3 separate regions of the Homo sapiens genome follow, and regions 2 and 3 are each linked to region 1. The links are contacts of gene promoters, found by promoter capture Hi-C in blood cells and fetal thymus (Javierre and others, 2016). All regions are on one chromosome and are shown on one strand. Each heading gives the region's core, a stretch centred on a gene start or on the middle of the fragment in contact. The rest is flanking DNA. Distances are from core to core; before and after follow the strand shown.

The links. Contacts are between HindIII fragments. The CHiCAGO score rates a contact against its expected background, and 5 or more counts as called.
Region 2: a contact is called between the fragment with the promoter of NLK here and the fragment with the promoter of WSB1 in region 1, in 1 of 17 cell types (erythroblasts). The highest score is 5.4, in erythroblasts.
Region 3: a contact is called between a fragment that was not itself captured here and the fragment with the promoter of WSB1 in region 1, in 3 of 17 cell types (non-activated CD4 T cells, total CD8 T cells and activated CD4 T cells). The highest score is 6.6, in non-activated CD4 T cells.

Annotation. Positions count from the first base shown.
Region 1 is chr17:27,291,912-27,296,045 of GRCh38, reverse strand. It overlaps WSB1 (WD repeat and SOCS box containing 1), which reads right to left and starts at 1,932. Exons shown (of 9, transcript NM_015626.10): 1 at 1,611-1,932. The coding sequence starts at 1,650. MIR4522 (microRNA 4522) reads left to right here and starts at 2,050; the gene lies at 2,050-2,136. RefSeq lists enhancers at 1,654-1,713, 1,724-1,783, 2,154-2,203 and a silencer at 1,904-2,113. The HindIII fragment of the contact is 5,795 bases long and covers 1,016-4,134 here.
Region 2 is chr17:28,040,266-28,044,399 of GRCh38, reverse strand. NLK (nemo like kinase) reads right to left here and starts at 1,723. Exons shown (of 11, transcript NM_016231.5): 1 at 1,069-1,723. The coding sequence starts at 1,526. LOC105371709 (a long non-coding RNA gene) reads left to right here and starts at 2,680. Exons shown (of 3, transcript XR_934637.4): 1 at 2,680-2,803; 2 at 2,996-3,174. LOC102724517 (a long non-coding RNA gene) reads right to left here and starts at 1,062. Exons shown (of 2, transcript XR_001752820.2): 1 at 1-1,062. RefSeq lists silencers at 2,336-2,565, 2,586-2,815 and an enhancer at 2,983-3,277. The HindIII fragment of the contact is 3,107 bases long and covers 965-4,071 here.
Region 3 is chr17:27,805,610-27,809,743 of GRCh38, reverse strand. No RefSeq gene overlaps it. Among named protein-coding and RNA genes, the nearest start is that of NOS2, 7.1 kb to the right of the region's middle. RefSeq lists enhancers at 1-932, 1,546-1,665, 3,411-3,430, 3,347-3,586, 3,212-4,134 and 3 more, a silencer at 848-1,010 and promoters at 1-4,134, 927-4,134. The HindIII fragment of the contact is 3,513 bases long and covers 440-3,952 here.

The DNA of each region.
Region 1 (4,134 bases), core at 683-3,182:
CCTGACCAACATGGAGAAACCCCATCTCTACTAAAAACACAAAAATTAGCCGGGCGTGTGCATGCCTGTAATCCCACCTACTCAGGAGGCTGAGGGAGGAGAATCGCTTGAAACCGGGAGCCGGAGGTTGCAGTGAGCCGAGATCGTGCCATTGCACTCCAGCCTGGGCAACAAGAGCAAAAACTCCATCTCAAAAAAAAAAAAGAGAGAGAGAAAACAGGACCGCAAAGTTTTCAAAATGGTTTATCAGGATGAAGTAAAATACAGATTTAAAAAAAAGGCAGATCACTCGTCTATAACATTATGGTGTACTAAAGTAAAAGAAAAACCCACTGGACTGATAAGAACTTTTGAGTTCTTTGTCCCACTTCGCGACATACTTTCTAGTCTTAAAATACAGTTAAAATAATAACTGGACACAAATTCTGTGTTCTTTGCATCTTTTTTTTTCTTTTTTCTGTGTGAACTCTGCTACAATTTTTTCCCTTTTTTTTCTGTGTTTGTATCTTTAAAAATGGTTATTAAAACCAGGGTTAAAGTCCCTTCCTAATCAATCATCCCTAAGACAACAAAAGTCCAGAATTCTAAAACAGCTGTTTCTAGATATAAAAATTCACCCACATACAAAATAGTGCGCGTTTTGGCTACTTCAGCCTCTTCCCTTCTCTAGAAATAACTCCTCCTTGTACTTAGTAAAGGCACACATTCACTTCAAGAGTAGGAAAATGTAAATGCTCTCTGCTCAGCGGCCGCAGCTAATTATTACTTCACACAGTAAGATCAGTGTTTGCTAAGTGTTATCAGCCAATGTACAGCACCCCCCAACACCGTCAAACGTTGTTCCAGTTATTTTACTTTAAAAGAGGATTTAAATAATGCGACGTGCTTTCCACTGAGCCACTAAGTAGGTGTGGACGCACAACCTTCAACACTAATTGCCCTTTACTAAGCCGACCAGGGCTAGACACTAAGCCAGAAAAGCCTTTTCCAGAGTTTCCTCTTCCGCACAAAAGCTTTCCTTCTGTCACTCCACCCAACCACCCAGCTCCTCCCTTAAGTGTTTGAAAGATAATTCTAAAAGTCTCCTCCCCCGAACCGCTGCGTTTCTTAAGGCCACACCATTTTAAAAATACTGTATTGCTTTTGCCAGGCTGTTGGGACCTCTTCCATCTCATTTCTATCTAAGAGTGGTTGGTACACACGAGGACCCCCTCCTTTCATTACCGCTTACAACCCACAAGTTTACTTTTCCCCATTGTAAACCTAAAGTCCCTGAGTGGCCCTTCCCTGTCCACTCGACAGTCATGCCCTGAGCCAAGAACTCCCAGGACAAGAGCCCTGCGCGGACCTCCGACGAAGAAACCGGGGTCCTTGCCCGCCCCAGCCACACAGCAACCGCGAGGGAGCACAGTAGGTGCTGCATCCACGTCGGTGCCGTTTACCCCTCAGCCAACTCCCACCGAGGCGGCTTCCTCCTCCTCGCTAGTGGGCTGGCCCTGGCGCACTGGAGCTCTTCCCTCAGACTTGGAGTCGCTTCCTCCCAAACCTCCTCCGGGGAGTCCCTGCCTCTCCTCGGCCCTCATGCGCCCACCCACGGTCCCAATCCTCACCGATCTCTTTCTCGTTGACCCTCGGGGGAAAGCTGGCCATCTATGGGGCACCGTCTGATTCCGGGAATACGATGCGGACCCAACAACAGAGAAGAGAGTGGCGACCGCTGAGGGGCGTGACGCCAAGTTGGTCCCTCCCGGGCCCAGGGACAGAGGAGACGGGCGGGGGCGGCCGCTGCGGCTTCTGCTAACTGCCTCGGGAAAGCTCCCGAAGGCCTCAGACCAAAGTACGGAGTCAACCACAGACAATAGACCCTGTACCCAGCCTCGCGCCTGCGGAGGAAGACAGTTCCCCTAAAGCGCCGACTGCAAACGAGACACTGGAGTCAAAATGGCGGGCGGCGCCGGAGATATCTGGGCGGCAGGGGCGCGGCCACGTGACGTCACAGCCCGAGGCCCCCGCCTCCCGACGCACGGGACGTGATCTCCCCGGCCCGGCGCGGGCGTTGCCTGGGGGCCTCGCAGGGGGAGATCCAGCCCAGGCTGGTTCCGCTGACTCTGCCTGTAGGCCGGTGGCGTCTTCTGGGCCTGGATGGTCTAATATGGAGTTTATAAGCTGAAGTGGCTTTGAAAAGGGCAAGCAGAGAATTGTATTATTATTAGCCTCCTAGCTTAAAGATTGCATGGAACTTAAACTGGCTGAACCAAAAGAACAAAAAGACATTTCAGGTTTTCACTCAATTTGGCCAACTCCCCAGCCCACAAGTAATAGGGAACTGAAGGATGCACTGATGAAAAAGACAGGATGAAAATTAACATCGTTGTGCACCACCTGTCCAGCTGCGATTGTTCAGACCTGAGCCAGCAGGTTTTAGGAAGGGCCGAGGGGAACGAGAAGGAGACTCGGGCGTGATCGCGCCGCACCGCGCCGCGGGGCCTCTCTGGACTGCCTTTGTCCTGGCCAAGATGGATCCCACTGTCCTGGCCAAGATGGATCCCACTGTGTCAGCTCAGAATTGGCCCTTCCTCCACCTTACCTGAAGGCCTCTGGGAGGCACCTAGTTGTCCACACATCAGACTGATAAATGTGTCAGTATCTGCTAGATGCCAGCTTGGTTCCCGGTCACAGATGACGTATTTGCATTTTAATGGCTTCTCGTGTGGACCCTAAACATTGCAAAGGCCTGGGGCGTATAAGACTGGGAATTCAAATATGTGGCAGATATTCATGGGACAGAGTAGAGTGTTGCATAGCCGCTTTTTTTTTTTTTTTTTTTTTTTTTTTTGAGACGGAGTCTCGCTTCTCCCAGGCTGGGGTGCAATGGCGTGATCTTGGCTCACTGCAACCTCCGTTTCCCGGGTTCAGGCAATTCTCCTGCCTCAGCCTCCCCAGTAGCTGGGATTTGTACAGGCATGTGACACCAAGCCCGGGTAATTTTTGTATTTTTAGTACAGAGGGCGTTTCACCCTGTTGGCCAGGCTAGTCTCGAACTCCTGGCCTCGAGTGATCCGCCCGCCTCAGCCTCCCAAAGTGCTGGGATTACAACGTGAGCCACCACGCCCGGCTGCATAGCCGCTTTTAAGAGATCTCAAATGATAACACTGTAGGGCATGTTTACTTCATCTTTTCTTTGCATGAGTGTATTAATTCTTCAAATAGCGAAATGTTTAATAAAACATCGCCCCTCCTTTTTTTTTTTTTTGGTTATTTATTTATTTTTTTTTTTGAGACGGAGTCTTGCTCTGTCTCCCAGAGCAGAGTGCAGTGGCGCCAACTCGGCTCACTGCAACCTCTGCCTCCCGGGTTCAGGCGATTCTCCTGCCTCAGCCTCCCGAGTAGCTGGGACTACAGGTGGCTGCCACCACGCCCAGCTAATTTTTTTCATCCTTTTAGTAGGGAGGGGGTTTCACGATATTGGCCAGGCTGGTCTTGAACTCCTGACCTTGTGATCTGCCCACCTCGGCCTCTCAAAGTGCTAGGATTAGAGGCGTTAAGCTACTGCGCCCTGCCTGCCCCTCGTCTTTAAAAAAAAATCACTTTGTTAGGCTGGGGGCGGTGGCTCACGCCTGTAATCTCAGCGCTTTGGGAGGCTGAGGCGGGTGTCAGGAGTTCGAGACCAGCCTGGCCAACATGGTGAAACCCCCATCTCTACTAAAAATACAAAAAATTAGCCAGGCGTAGTGGCGAAGTCCCAGCTACTCTGGAGGCTAAGGCAGGAGAATTGCTTGAAACCGGGAGGCAGAGGTTGCAGTGAGCTGAGGTTGCACCACTGCACTCTAGCCTGGGTGACAAGAGTGAAACTCTGTCTCAATAAATAAATAAATCAATAAATCACTTTGTTAGCTTCAGTCAACGATATCTTGAGGACTCACTCTGTATCAGGCACTGGGCCTAGTTGCTGAATTTTTAGAGTAGAACAAAAGAAAAACTTTAATGCAGTCTTGTAGCTCATGTACCAACATTCATATCAGTCTGAGTTAATTCTTTTAACCAACTGCTATTATCCCTGTTACTTGTACTATACCATACAAATTCATGGGAAATACCAGTTTTTGAGTGTCCAACAGTGAATTATTGTGATGA
Region 2 (4,134 bases), core at 474-2,973, 750 kb before region 1:
TAGCCTCAAAAACAATGACGAAAGGAGATATTTACCGGGCTAGTTCCAAAGAGTTCATTTTCCTGTGGTAATGGGCGCTTTTCTCGGGAGTAACAATTTTTGAATGCACTGAAAATATCAATTCATCTATCCAAAGTGGAATCATTAGTCCTTGGGAGAAAACCCAGTTCATTCTAGTTTTGATAGGAACAAACATATTTTATTATAAACTACTAATCTTTCTAAGGTTAGACCAAATAGACCAAAATGTTATATTTAAGAAGCCCTTAGGCTTTTACAAATATCCTAGCACTAGCAAAGGTAGGGTCATTTGTTAAAAAAGTATTATTTCCTACTACAGCAACTGACCAACAGATAACAGCAACTTAAGAGGCACTAAATGACACTAAAACATTACACTGAATGTGGGCCACTGCATAGCTAGTCTACTAACCTCATTTGTGGTACTCATGTGTGATGCTATATTTAATGCATTCTTATCAAAAGGCTACAGCTACATACTTCTCAACTGTAGCTTTATGGTTTAAAATAAACCACTCAAGCAATGATCTTAACTGGTTCAACTATGAATCCTATCTTTCTTCTGGAGATCAAGATCACAAAATAAGTGAAAAGACAGAAAGGACAGGAAAGTAGTTATGCAAAGTATATCCTAATGACAAGAGTATTATAAAGGAATTCAGTCTGGATCAGGTGCTAACACTTAATGCCACAGGGCCACTGAATCAAACACACGAGATGACCAAGGTCTTCGTAGGAATTAGTATTGCATACATTCATCTACTGATCCTGTGTTCAGTGGCTTGCTTAGGTTCTAATAGAAAAGTTTGGTAGACAGCACACTTATGTGTGTTGCTCATGAGAAGGCGCTCCACCAAAACTTGCCATGAGCCTAGACAGCCAATGCATTAGGCCTCTTTACCACATAAGTGAGGGTGGCTTCCTACAGTTGGGTTGAGAAGCTTGCTGCACCTTGGTCAACATGGAGACAACCATTAGAGATGGACTCATCCAATGACAACCAACAGAAGAAACCATGAGAGGTTGTGTTTTTCTTTGGATACTCACCAGACAACACCAAAGGCTCCATATCCAATAGGTCTATCCGGCTCAATATCCAGCTGCTGCTGTGGATGATGCGAGTGCTGATGATGGTGCGCCTTAACTGTAGCAGCTGCGGCAGCCTGTACCTGAGCTGGGGCTGCTGCAGCTGGTCCAGGAGCCTGCCCCGGTGCCGGTGATGGGAAATATGGCTGTTGTTGCCCAGGGTTTAACATGGCTGCAGCTGCAGCCGCTGCTGCGGCTGCCGCAGCTGCCGAAGAGGTGTGCTGCTGTACAGGGTGTACAGCGGCAGCCGACCCCGGATGAAGATGGTGTTGAGGGTGGTGGTGGTGGTGCAGGTGAGGAGGAGGGAGGTGTGGAAGGTGGTGGTGATGGTGGTGGTGGTGACCTGCTGCTGCTGCAGATGTACCGCCATTGTAAGCCGCCATCATTTTTGCGTTGGCTCTTGCGCCACAAAGAGACATTCAAAATAAATGCCCTTTGATTGGAAAGCAAACTGGGTCAAGCTGTCATTTGGCCATTTAAAAATGAAGAAAAACCACTCACTCCACCTCAAAAAACATAGAGCTTTATGTCTTCATCAGTCAATCCAAACAAGTTAGAGGATCTTGGTGTTTAATTTTGGGGTGAGCGTGTGTGGAAGGGTGTGGGTTGCCAAAAGGAAAAAAAAGGGAAAAAAGAAAAGAAAAAGGAAAAAAGGACCCCTTCCCCCCAGGATTCCTGCCACAAGTGGGTACTAAAACTCCATTCTTAATTTGGGGGAGGTTCCAACTTTGAATGTGGGAATAAAGGCCAAACCTCCCGACCCCCTGAACTCCACACACGAAAAGGATCAGGTAACACACCACCCTTGGAATCTTGAAAGAGGGTTGACTCATCTACCCCTTCCATTCCCACATCCTTTTCTAAACACCTACCACCTCCTCAAAAACAGGATTAAAAAAAATTCCCACCACCCTAAATGGAGAAGATGGGGGGAAATTTTCTGGGAAACCAGCTTCCAGCTTCCCCCCCCCCGAACTCTCAGGCCTTCCTACATCTCCCCCTACTCCTAGTCAGGTTGACCTGATTGGGGAGGGGGGGCGGGGGTTCCAAACTTTCCTGGGCAGAATAAGCCAGGGAAGGAGGCTGGAGTGAGGAGAGGAGGCGACAGCAGGACAGAGAGGAGAAAGAGAGCCGGGGCAAAAGTGAAGGGAAGGAGGTGCAGGGAGGAATGAAAGATGTGGGCAGCGCTCGGACGCCCAGACGGAGGGAACCGCCCCGGGAGAAGGTTAGGGTCCCGGGGCCAAAGAACAGGAGCCCCGGGAGGCGGGCGGGGTACGGTCGGAAGCGGGCTGACTCCTGCCCCCGCCGCCGGCTGCTTCTGCTGAGGAGGGTTGGGGGGGAGAGCGGGTGGGTCCCCCGCGCAACGGCCCCGCAGGGCTCAAGGCTGCTCCGTCTCCCCCCCTCCCCCCCACCCGGCTTCCGTCCCCGCGGCCGCTTTCTCCTCAGCCGCCGCGGCCGCCTTCTCCTCAGCCGCCGCCTCCTCAGCCGCCGGTTCCGCCGCGGCCGGACTCACCTCCCCTAGCAAAGCCGGATAGAGCGGAGCCAGCGTCGGACACGCGCAACCAGCCGCCGAGGCCCCGCCCCCGCCTTGCACGGACCGGCTGCCCTAGCCAATCCACGCCCACCTGTCCGCCACCGCCTCCAATCCTGGGCCAGGAGCTTCAGACAGGCGCACTGTTCGGCCAGTGGCAACAAGGTGTGGGTCTTCCGGGGAAATCCCGCCCCCGATCCGGGATGGGCAGATAGAAAGACCAATCAAAGGCAGAGTTTGGCTTGACCGACAAGGCTTAAAGCCAATTAAAAAGCAAAGATCTTTGTGACATTTTTCTTTCGCCTCTCTCCTCTTTTCTTCTTCTTCTTTTATTATTTATTTTTTTTTTTTTGGCAGGAGCAGGAAGCTGCGTGGTAATCCCGCCTGCAAAAGCTGGAAGAGAGGGGCGGAACGAAAGAACCAATCATGAGCCAGAGACAAAGAACAGAGTAACCAATCCTTGGGTTGAAAATGAAGTGGGATGGAACCTGGGCCAAATAGACACTTGAAAAAACAAATGGAAAAAAAAGGTTGATGTAAGTCCCACCCTTTAGATCTCCTATAGGACAGGATTGTGGAGAATTTGCTGTCATATCGAGACAACCTCTTCAAGGGGCGGGGCTTAGGGAAGGGGTGGGGTCTTAAAGTGGGCGGGACCTAGACGAAGAAGGCGGAGTCCAAATCATCACTGGTCCACTGATCCGAGATGTCCAATATCCCACTTAAGATGTAAAGTGTGGGGTAAAAAATAGGGGAAGAAAAAGGGAATGTTGAGCTTCAGAAACTCAAGGTCCAAGGTCACTCAACAAGAAGACAAAGGAAACTCAAAAGACTGACAGAAACTCAGTAGACTGACAGTTCGTAGTCTACGGCCGGTCCTCTCCATAGTTAATCCTGATCTTGGCAAAAAGAGGAGGAATCTCTGGCATTCAGAACTCCACTGTCGACAAATGATAAAGCTGTTGGTGCAAATTAAAACAAAAAAAGTAAACTTGACCACAAAAATAATAATTTTCCTCTATCTTTCTTTCTTAACAGGGTCACATTCTGTCACCCAGGCTAGACTGCAGTGGCACAGTCCTAGCTCACTGCAACCTCCAACTCCCGGCTCAAGCAATCTTCCCGCCTCAGCTTCCCGAGTAGCTGGGATTACAGATGTGCATCACCATGCCCGGCTGATTCTTTAATTTTTTAGAAACAGGGTCTTAATATGTTGCCCAGGTTGGTCTCAAATTCCTAGGCTCAAGAGATCCTCCCACCTCCCACCTTGGCCTCCCAAAGTGCTGAGATTACAGGCGTGAGCCACCGCCTCCAGCCTCTCCCATATTTTCTATCAAGTAAGTTTCTGTCATTGAAATCTTACTAAAATAGCATCTTTCCATCACTTCATTTATCTGAATTTACCCTTCCTTTAAAATGTGAAATAATAAGCTTACAGAACCTTATCCCTACTGAAACTGTATAGTTTACTCAAAAACTTGGAAGTCATCTTCGAT
Region 3 (4,134 bases), core at 947-3,446, 510 kb before region 1:
AGCCATAAAAAGAATGAAGAACTTAAACATGCCACGTGAATGAACCCCAAAAACATTATAAGTGAAACAAGCTAGACACAAAGGGCCAAATATTATATGATTCCATTTGTATAAAACATCCAAAATAAGCAAATCTATAGTGAAAAAAAAGTAGATTTAGTGGTTTCTAAGAGTTGGGGGTAAGAAATAGGGAGTGACTGTTAATGGGTACAGGGTTTCTATTTGGGGTGACAAAAACGTTCTGGAATTAGATAGTGGTGATAGTTTCATAACTTTGTGAATATACTAAAAACCACTGAATTATACTCTTTAAATGGGGGAATTTAATGGCACGTGACTTTTTATCTCAACAAAACAAAATCCACTGAGCACCTAGTCTGGGCCAAGCATGCTGCTGGTGCTGCAGAGATGTGAGACATGACCTTGGCCTTGGGAAGCTTGTGTCTAGTAAAAGAGACAGAGCAGTGAGACCACAATTAAAACAGTGGGATCAGTGTTGAGGAGAGGGGAGCCTAAGGGATTTGGGGAACCCCAAGGGGCTTGAGGATGGAGGGTCAGGGGAGCCCCTAGAGGCAACAATGCCATGAAGTAAAGCAGAGTCTGAAGGGGATTCGAGTCAGGGCAAGGGTGGGCTAGGGAGCTGTCGGGAAGGACATTCCAGCAACAGGGAACAGTGTGTGCAAAGGCATGGCTTACTAGAGAGCTCCTGGAGTTGGGGGGAGCTCTGAAATGCAGGCCAGGATGAGACAGGCTAGACACAGGTATTGGAAGCAGAAGTTCAAGGTTCTTCCTTCCGGCATGGGAGCTTCCCTTGTAAGCTCAGCAGGAGGACAGCCTTTCCTCCTGTTGGGGACTGTCACCTCCTCTGAGAGTACTCCCCCAGGCTTCCCTGCCCAACCCCGCCCCCACCTGGCCTCTTGGGCCCTCCCGGGAGCCCCTGGGGAACTCCTGCATTGCTCAGTCCTTCCTCCAGGGCCCTGACAGCATCACAGATCATTTCATTGATTTTCCTGCCTCTTCCCCAGGAGCTGTCTTTGCCCTTTAAACAGTTGTTGTCTACAAGAGCTTGGTCTTGGGTGAGAGAGGGCTGCCTTGAGCCTCAGACCGGTGGTGTCCCTAAGATGCTCCTCCCAGAAGCATTTGGAATCAAATGGACCTGAATCTTGGTTCTGCAGCTTTAGCTGTATGATCTTGGGAAAAATTCTTTAATCTTCCTAAGCCTCAATTTTGTCATCTGTAAAATAGGGTTGACACAGCTCACCTCACAGTGTGGTGGTGTGGAATGCATGAGATAACACATTAAAAAGGCCCTGGCAGTCAGCTGGGCATTGTTTCTTGAGCTCCAGCATGTGCCAGGTGCTGGGAGAATAGCAGTAGGCAGAGCCAGCCAGCTCGGTGCTGCTGCTCTGCTAAAGCTACAGCTACGCTCCGGCTCTGGCAAGATAGGAGCGTGCTCAAGCTGAACTGCAGGGCAGGTGCTGCGTACATCCTCTCGCTACTCCTCCCCAAGGCTTGAGGAGGTGGGGACTCTGTGATTATCCACACTTTACAGATAAGCAAACTGAAACCAAAAGTAACCTCTCCAATGCCCACAGATGAATTTAGGTGGCAGGCCTGAGACTTGTCCCTGAGTCTGCCTGACAGTGGCCTCTGCCGTTATTAATAGCTTGCCCCCCACAGCCTCCCACTCAAATTGCTGGAGGAATTACCCTTCCTCCCTTCCTCCAATTCTTCCTTCACCCACCAAGAGCCAGACCCCACCTCTGTTTCAAGAGTGAGCCGCTCAGCTTTGGCCAACCGTCCTAGCATTTCGATGCACTTGGCCTGTCCCCCTGGTTTCCACTCTGTTTTTAAGGAGGCAGCCCCTGTCCCCCAAATGCACCGCCTCCAACAGGCTCTGGGACTCATCTTGCCATCTCTATTGGCAGCAGAGTGGGGAGGGAGAGAGACAGCCAGCTTGTCTGCCATCACTCACCACTGGATCCCCAGGGCCCAGCTTGGAAAACTCACGGACGATGCTCAGAAAACCGGTGTAACTCCTGCAGAACAGCCAGGGGCGTGGGCAGCCGCCCTCTCTGTGCCTCCTGTAATGAAAATGGGTGCTAGAGGCTCTTTTCCTTTGGGAAAGGTGAATTACTGGCACAGCCACACGTCTGAGATAGTATTTCAAAAAGTAAGGAGTCACTTTTTATATTATAAAACTAACATATGCACAGATAGCAAATACAGAGAAGGGTAAAGAAAAGATAACTATTGCCCATAATTCTACCACTTTTTAATATTTTAGTATTTTTTTCTCACATTTTTTCTGTCTTTATTTTACATGTTAGGGGTTATCATTTTTCTACTGATATCATGAACATTATTTCTTATCATAAAGACTCTTTTTTTTTTTTTTTAAGAGATCAGAGTCTCACTGTTGCCTAGGCTGGAGAGTGCAATGGTGCAATCATAGCTCACTGCGGTCTCTTAATTCCTCAGCTCAAGTGATCCTCCCACCTCAGTTAGTAGCTAGGTCTACAGGTGCTTGTCACGATGCCCAGCTAAATAAATCCTTTTTTTTGAAACAGGGTCTCACTTTGTTGCCCAGGCTGGGGTGCAATGGTACAATCACAGCTCACTGCAGCATCGACCTCCTGGTCTCAAGCGATCCTCCCACCCCAGCCTCTCGAGTAGCTGGGACTGCAGGTGTTCACCACCACACTTGGCTAATTTTTGTAATTTTTGTATTTTTTGTACAGACAGGGTTTTGCCATGTTGGCAAGGCTGGTCTCAAACTCCTGGGCTCAAGCAATCCTCCCATCTTAGCCTCCCAAAATGCTAGAATTTACAGGCATGAGCTACCACACCTGGCCAAAAAATTCTTAATACACTTTTTTTTTGGCCACGTAATGGTACACTATAAAGCTGGCCTGGTGTGCCTTTCTCTATGCTGATCACTTGGGTTGTTTCTGGCTCTCGTAGAGAGCGATGCTCCAGACATCTCTGTGCACACAGTGGTCAGGCTCTGCAGAAGTTGCCAGTCGTTGCTACATTCTGCCTTTCAGGGGCACTCTGGTGGGGAAGATAACTTTTCCAAGAGCATCAAAGACCAGATATGTATGAGGTGGGGAGACTCAGAAAGCCCAGATACCACAGCTGGAAAGGCCTCAGAGACCCTTAACTGAGGAAAGGGAGGCCCGGAGGGCTTATGTGGCCTAACCAAAGATGCAGCGCTTCTTAGGGAAGGATACAAGAGGGTGGGCTTAGCTGAAGCTCTTGGCATTTAGAACTTCTTGGATCAGCATCCAGCACCCTCAGAGGCTGTACCTGGGGAGGAGGTACCTCTCTTCCTCCATTTGACCCAATTCTAAACCCCCTGTAGCAGTGACGTCTGTCTTCGTCTCATTCCAGTGCACTTTGTGAATTCTAGAGGGCTTTCCCAGAACCAAGGAAGGCTGCTCTGCCCACAGCAGGCCTTGGGAATTTAACCTCCCTGGGAGCAGCCTCAATGAGTGATGCTCTGGAACTGCTGGGTCAGTAGCCCAGCCCCTGGCCCCTTGGATGGGATCATTTGAAGCCCTGTTTTCTGCACCATTTTTCAAGTTCCCTGGTGGGGCTGAGTCTGGTTGCAAATCGTGAAAGCTGCCCTATAGTACTTTTACCAGCTGCCTCCCTTTCTCTGTCTCACTTCCTCATTCCCCTCCTGATGTCCCCTGCACTTCCCAGATACACTACTTGCCCCTGAATCTTGCCCCTTGAACCATCACACCCTGGGACTACCCCAGGTGCCACTCTGTTTGTTGTTTCTCCGCCTAGAAGGACGGGCACCCAGGAAGCAAAACGGGAGGGCAGGGAAGGGAGGGTGTTCTGGGGAGGCTTGACAAGAAACGAGGCTTTTAAAAGAAACAGCAGCAAAGTGCCAGGCCTGCACCAGCCAGCTTGAGTCACACTCCAGGGACTCAGCAAAGCTTGTCCACCTTCCTGGTCCACCCTGGGCCTGTCCATCCTGGAGTGACCACCGGGCGTTTCCAGTAAAAATCCCTTCACTTCACTTCCGTCATCTCCGAGTCAGGCAAGGTGGTGGAAACCGGGGAAGACCTCAGCTTCGGAGCTGCTGGAATTTGTGTGACTCACGCCCTCCAGTGGTCACTT